Linked DNA regions of Homo sapiens: region 2 is linked to region 1. Evidence: promoter capture Hi-C in human tissues and cell types (Jung and others, 2019). All regions are on one chromosome and are shown on one strand. Each heading gives the region's core, a stretch centred on a gene start or on the middle of the fragment in contact. The rest is flanking DNA. Distances are from core to core; before and after follow the strand shown. Region 1 holds the start of NRP1 (neuropilin 1). Region 2 overlaps PARD3 (par-3 family cell polarity regulator).

Region 1 (2,812 bases), core at 139-2,638:
GCTTGGTAGCTGCTGAGGGAAATCCATTGCTAAAATCACAAAACCTTGAAAAAGCATATTAGAGAGATTAACTTCCATCATAAAGATGTGATTTAAATTCCTGTTGGTATGAGGCCCTCCACTTGCGGTCTCTTATTAAAACAATATACCACAGTAAGTAGTGGATGTTCTTTTCTTCTAATTACTGTGATTGAAATCTAAGCCAGACAAAAGTAAATATTTGATCATTAGTTAATAACAATTGCTGACGACTTACTGTAAAGATAATTGCATACCCTTGCCTGCACTTACTTTACAGTGTGAAGTCAAACATGCCTACAACCAGATCCCATTTTAAAACACATTATTTAGGTTACATGGTACTGTTTAGACCCCAGTATAGTTTTTCATTTACTTAACAGTGAGTGATTTTAAAAGCTAAGTGGAAGCTGCAACTAGCTTAGGGATTTTCAGATATCCTGGTGCCTTACACTGTATATGTCAGATTCCTGTATTGATACTATGTAACTTTCAGTCATACTCCAGACAGATTACGGAAGGTGTACAAAGGCGGGGGAGGGAGTTTCATCAACCCACAAACCGATATCTCTGGCCGTCACCCACCAGAGGAAACGGCTTAGGGGAGCAGCAAAGGAACCAGGAAGTAAGATCTCCTGGTAAAGTGTTCATTAACTTTCAACAGCCATCAGATTTTTGAAAGGGAGTCTCTTCTAATTGCCTTTGGGAGGAAACATTATTAAGATAATTGGCATGCTGATCTGGGAAGGTAGACAGCTCTGTCTTGTAACAGAGGTAAGGAAAAGCCCCACAGCCCAAGGATCAACGTCAGGAGGGAGCCCAAAGACCTGAAATCCTCCTGCTCTAAACCGCCTGATCTCATTTCTTCTTCTCTCCTCCCAGATAAAAGTTTCCTTCGCCCGGGAGTCGGTTGTTCCCGGCTGATCCCGGGAAGCCCCGCCTGAGCCCCGGTCCGGGGCGGGCAGCTGGGAGCCGGGGCGCCGCTGTCACCCGCGCCTCTGCCTGTCACTTACCGTTGCGAAAAGCGCCGGCCGGGGCGAGGACGAGGGCGAGCACGGCGCAGAGGAGCGGCAGCCCCCTCTCCATTCTCCCTTCTCCGGGTCCGCAGGCAGACGCGGGAGAACGAGGACGTGGGGGGAAATGCAGCAAAGAGGAGAATCTAAGCGATCCGAAGAGCCCCAACTCCGCCTAGAGCTGTACAATCCTCAGCCCGTCTTGGAGAAAAGAAAGCAGCGAGGCAATGCCTGGATCCGAGAGGAACGCTTCTCTTTTTGTGTCTCAAGTCGCCTGCATCCTGTCATTTAGCTCCGGCTTCCTCTCCCTTTTCCCACACTTGTTCCTCTTCCAGGAGCCACTGCCCGGGCCATGTCTCAAAAAAAAAAAAAAAAAAAAAAAAGGCCGGGGGGGGGCTGTGGGTGGGAGGGGGAGGAGGGAGGTAGGGCAACACACACCAAAGCCAATTTCCAGGAAGAAAAAAAAAAAATCCGGCTTGTTTCTGGACCCGTTGGAGCCGCGGAGCTGGCGCCCAGGGGAGGTCCGGGTGTCTGCGGGAAGGAGGGGAACGAGCAATGAAAAGATGAGCGGGAGACAGAGGAGTTTCACCAACTGCACCCCCGCCTCCCCTCCTGCGGCCTCCCCCCACTCCGGAGCCCTTCCCTCGCTTCCTCCCGCCCCTCTCCCCGCTTGGGCTCGCCTGTAATTGCCTGACAGGAGACTGGGAGGAACAACTTTCCCTCCGAGTGCTCTCCCCGTCCGTCTGTCTGTCTTTCCCAGAGACCCTGCAGGGATCTCCGCGGGAAGGAAGGCGCTGGGAGTCTGCGCCCCGGTCGCGTGGGTGCGGGCGTCGGAGGAAGGGGCGCGGAGGTCAGTGCCAGCCGCAGGGTCTGGCCAGCCCACCTCGCGTGCTCGCTCTGCACCCCTAGAGGGAGAGCTGGGCAGCTCCTGCAGGCGCAGATCCCGCCGCCGCGCAGTGCGGAGCGCCCGGGAGGTGGCGGCTGCTTCTCGCAACTTCAAATCCCGGGGCCCGCGCCCTCGGCGGCGAGGAACGCAGGGTCACCCCCTGCCACTCCTCATCGCGCCATCCTGAGACCTGTGGCGGGGAGCAGCGGGGCACCCCTGGACGCCCCTGCCCAGAGCTGGAGGGCGAGGAGGGGAAAGCCGGGCTGGAGTGGGAGCCGCACCGCGAAGCCGGGCGAGGGGCAGCAGTGTCGCTGTGGTGTGAAGCGAAGACAGACCGCCTGGGCGGGCGAGGCCGGGCTGCAGCCCCACGCGGCCTCCCTGGCCCGCATCAGGGCGCGCGGCTGGGTGCCCTCTGCGCGCCGCGGAGGCTTCATTGTTTCCCGAGATTTGGTGCCCGTTCCTCTGGGGCAGAGGGAACACCGGAGGGTGGGAGGTGCTGCGCCTTCCAAGCAGGGGGGCAATCGCCGCCCGACCCCGCCCAACCTTGTCTGGGAGCCCAGGTGCTAGGGAGGGGTGTGGAAATCAGGGGTCGGGCGGCCCCCGTTTCTCTGTGCATCCCGAGGGAGGGAAAGAGTGGCGGGGGAGGGGTGCTCTTCGCTGCGCCCTCTCAGTGTCCGCTCCCGGCCACAGACAACGTGCACGCCGGCCCTGGAGCTCCTGCCACCCCCACTTCCCACAGCGGCTCGTGCCCCCAGCCCGCTGGATGCCCCCCAGGCCCGTCCCCGAGGGTTTTCCGAGAAGTGCTGCAGGAAGCGTTTGTAGATGCGAAAAGCAAGGACATTTCTGGGAAGAAACAGGTTGCGGTCACCGATCAGGCCCCGGAGAAGGGTCAGTG
Region 2 (2,812 bases), core at 157-2,656, 1.2 Mb after region 1:
TTTTCAAAATCGAAAGAAGAAAGTAAGTTGTAAAACAAAAATGGCCTTTAGGTCAATGTGCTCATGAAGACTCATTAGAACCAATCTTCCACCATTTTTAAAGTTTCTGTCCAAAACAGAATTATTAAAATTGTCTAAAATAGGCCAGGCACGGTGGCTCACACCTGTAATCCCAGCACTTTGGGAGGTCAAGGCAGGCAGATCACCTGGGGTCAGGAGTTTGAGACCAGCCTGGCCAACATGGTGAAACCTCATCTCTACAAAAATACAAAAATTAGCTGGGTGTGGTGGCTCATGCCTGTAATCCTAGCTTACTCAGGAGGCTGAGGTGGGAGAACAGCTTGAACCCAGGGCATGGAGGCTGCAGTGAGCCAAGATCACACCACTGCACTCCAGTCTGTTATGTTCCAATAACAAAAGTTACATAAAATAACATAAATTATAATAACATAAAATGAATACAGTAACGTAACTTGTGTAACAATAATTTAATGCCTAAAAGTAAAATAAGTCATACAGAAGGAAAGAGGAGAGCTTGAACAAGAGAGAGTACCAGTGAAAGAATGAAACTTCCTAACATGCACAATATTCACAACCTGTACATAATTTTTCTCATCAAAATTTCCCATCTACAGCACTAAAAAATTACTATATTACTTTTAATTGTGCAAAAGAGTTAAAAATAACTAATTTGTTACCACAGATTTTTGTTTTTTATCAAGCAACCACAATTATATAATGGCTAGAGTTTTATTTGTACAAATATTGCCCCATATGGCTCACCTAAATAAAAAATGGTCTCAAAGAAATACTCACTGATATGGCTTGGATACTTGCCCCCTGCCCAAATTTCATGTTGAACTGTAATCCCCAATGCTGGAGGTGGGGCCTGGTGGGAGGTGTCTGAATCCTGGGGACGATTCCTTCATGGTTTGGTGCTGTCTTCATGACAATGAGTTCTCAGGATATCTGATCATTTAAAAGTGTGTGTGTGGCACCCCCCTCTGCCCGACTTGCTCCTGCTTTCGTCATGTGACGTGCCTCCTCCCCCTTCAACTTTCACCATGATTATAAGCTTCCAGAGGCTTCCCTAGATGCCAAGCAGATGCCAATGGCATGCTTCCTAGAAAGCCTGCAGAACAGTGAGCCAATGAAAGTTACCCCAGTCCCAGGTATTTCTTTATAGCAATGTAAGAATGGGTGAATACACTCACTAGATCATTACTGTTCATTACTTTCCTTCCCAAAATACTGAAATCAAAATGATCAGCCCATTAATATCACTAGGTCAGATGCTCATTTCATATTATCATGGAAGACGATGTATTTGTAAAGTGCGTTATTTTCACACTACCGTAAATATTTAAATGCATGTAAAATGTGGTAGGCAAAATAATGCCCTCCCACCCTCCTCCCCGCCAAAAAAAAAAAGATGTCTACATCTTAATCCCTAGAACCTGCCATGTTACCTTACATCATACATGTGATTAAGGTAAAGACCTTGGCATCAGGACATTACCCTAGTGGTATGGAATGAATGTTGTGTCTACCAAAACTCAAGAGTGGAAATCCTAATCCCCAAGGTGATGGTATAGGATGTGGGGCCTTGTGGGAAGCTGTGTCCTCATGACTTGGATTAGTGCCCTTATTAAAATGACCCAATAGAGCTTGTTTGCTCCTCCCACCATGTAAAGACATATTGAGAAGTAAAGATCTATGAGAAGGCAAGCCTTCACTAGACACCAAAACTGCTGGCACCTTGATCTTGCACTCGCAGCCTGTAGGACATGAGAAATGAGGTTTGGTTGTTTATCAGCCACCCAGTCTAAGGTATTCTGTTGAAGCAGCCTGAATGGACTTAGACAGTGGGCTCATTTGGATGATCCTGAGTCTCACTCAATTCAAGACTATGTAGTCACATGAGTCTTAAACGTGGAAGAGAAGGTCAGAACGGAAGAGTCAGAGAGAGATGTAACCATAGAAGAAGGGTCCACAAGGTACAAGGTTGATAATGCTAGAGATGGAGGAAGGGCCATACACGAAGGAAGGCAAGTGGACTCCAGAATCTGGAGAAGGCAAGAAAACAGATTCTCACCTAGAGCCTCCCGCAGGAAGGCAGCACTGCCAACCCTGGATTTCAGCCCAGTGAGATCCACACCAGACTCTGACATGCAGGACTGTAATAAACTCTTAAGCCCTAACATGATGATGATTTGTTATAGCAAGAATAGACTAGTACTAATTGTGTGTGTAGCGATATATAGACACACACACACAGACACTCAGAACTACATATACCCTGCTTTCCAAAATTGGAAAAAATAAACTATACATTAGACTTGGCTAGGTGTGGTGGTGACTACCTATAGTCCCAGCTACTGGGGAGGCTCAGAGAGAGGATTACTTGAGTATGGGCAACATAGCAGGATCCCATCTCAAAAAAAACAAAAACAAAAAACAACAACTTTGATTAAACTAATTTCCCACTTTTGAAGAAAAGAGAAGGACAGATCTTAGACAAGGGGGAGAAGTGAGGAAGGCAGAGCTGGTGACTTCTTTTCTGGCAGAAGCACAGACACAGGCCCATGCATATCTCTGCCCAGCTGGCTTTCCTCCCTCTCCTCATAAGGGATCCAACTGAACCATGGATCACAGACCCATACTCAGAATTAAATGCAGTTTTATGCCTCAGTGTCCTTGTTTCTGCCTCCCATTCCCAACTCCCTTATTCTGGTTATTAAAAAAAATTGGCTATTATCAAATATTAGTAGATACTCATGTACTACTTAGACAAACTGATCACCAGCTGGTT

The links. Contacts are between HindIII fragments. The study calls those that stand out against the background at their distance.
Region 2: a contact is called between a fragment that was not itself captured here and the fragment with the promoter of NRP1 in region 1, in 1 of the 25 tissues and cell types used here (dorsolateral prefrontal cortex).

What each region holds. Positions count from the first base shown.
Region 1 is chr10:33,333,279-33,336,090 of GRCh38, forward strand. NRP1 (neuropilin 1) reads right to left here and starts at 1,389. Exons shown (of 17, transcript NM_003873.7): 1 at 1,032-1,389. The coding sequence starts at 1,104. The HindIII fragment of the contact is 10,676 bases long and covers 1-2,812 here.
Region 2 is chr10:34,500,318-34,503,129 of GRCh38, forward strand. All of the region lies in intron 3 of PARD3 (par-3 family cell polarity regulator), which reads right to left. Among named protein-coding and RNA genes, the nearest start is that of PARD3, 310 kb to the right of the region's middle. The HindIII fragment of the contact is 6,066 bases long and covers 1-2,812 here.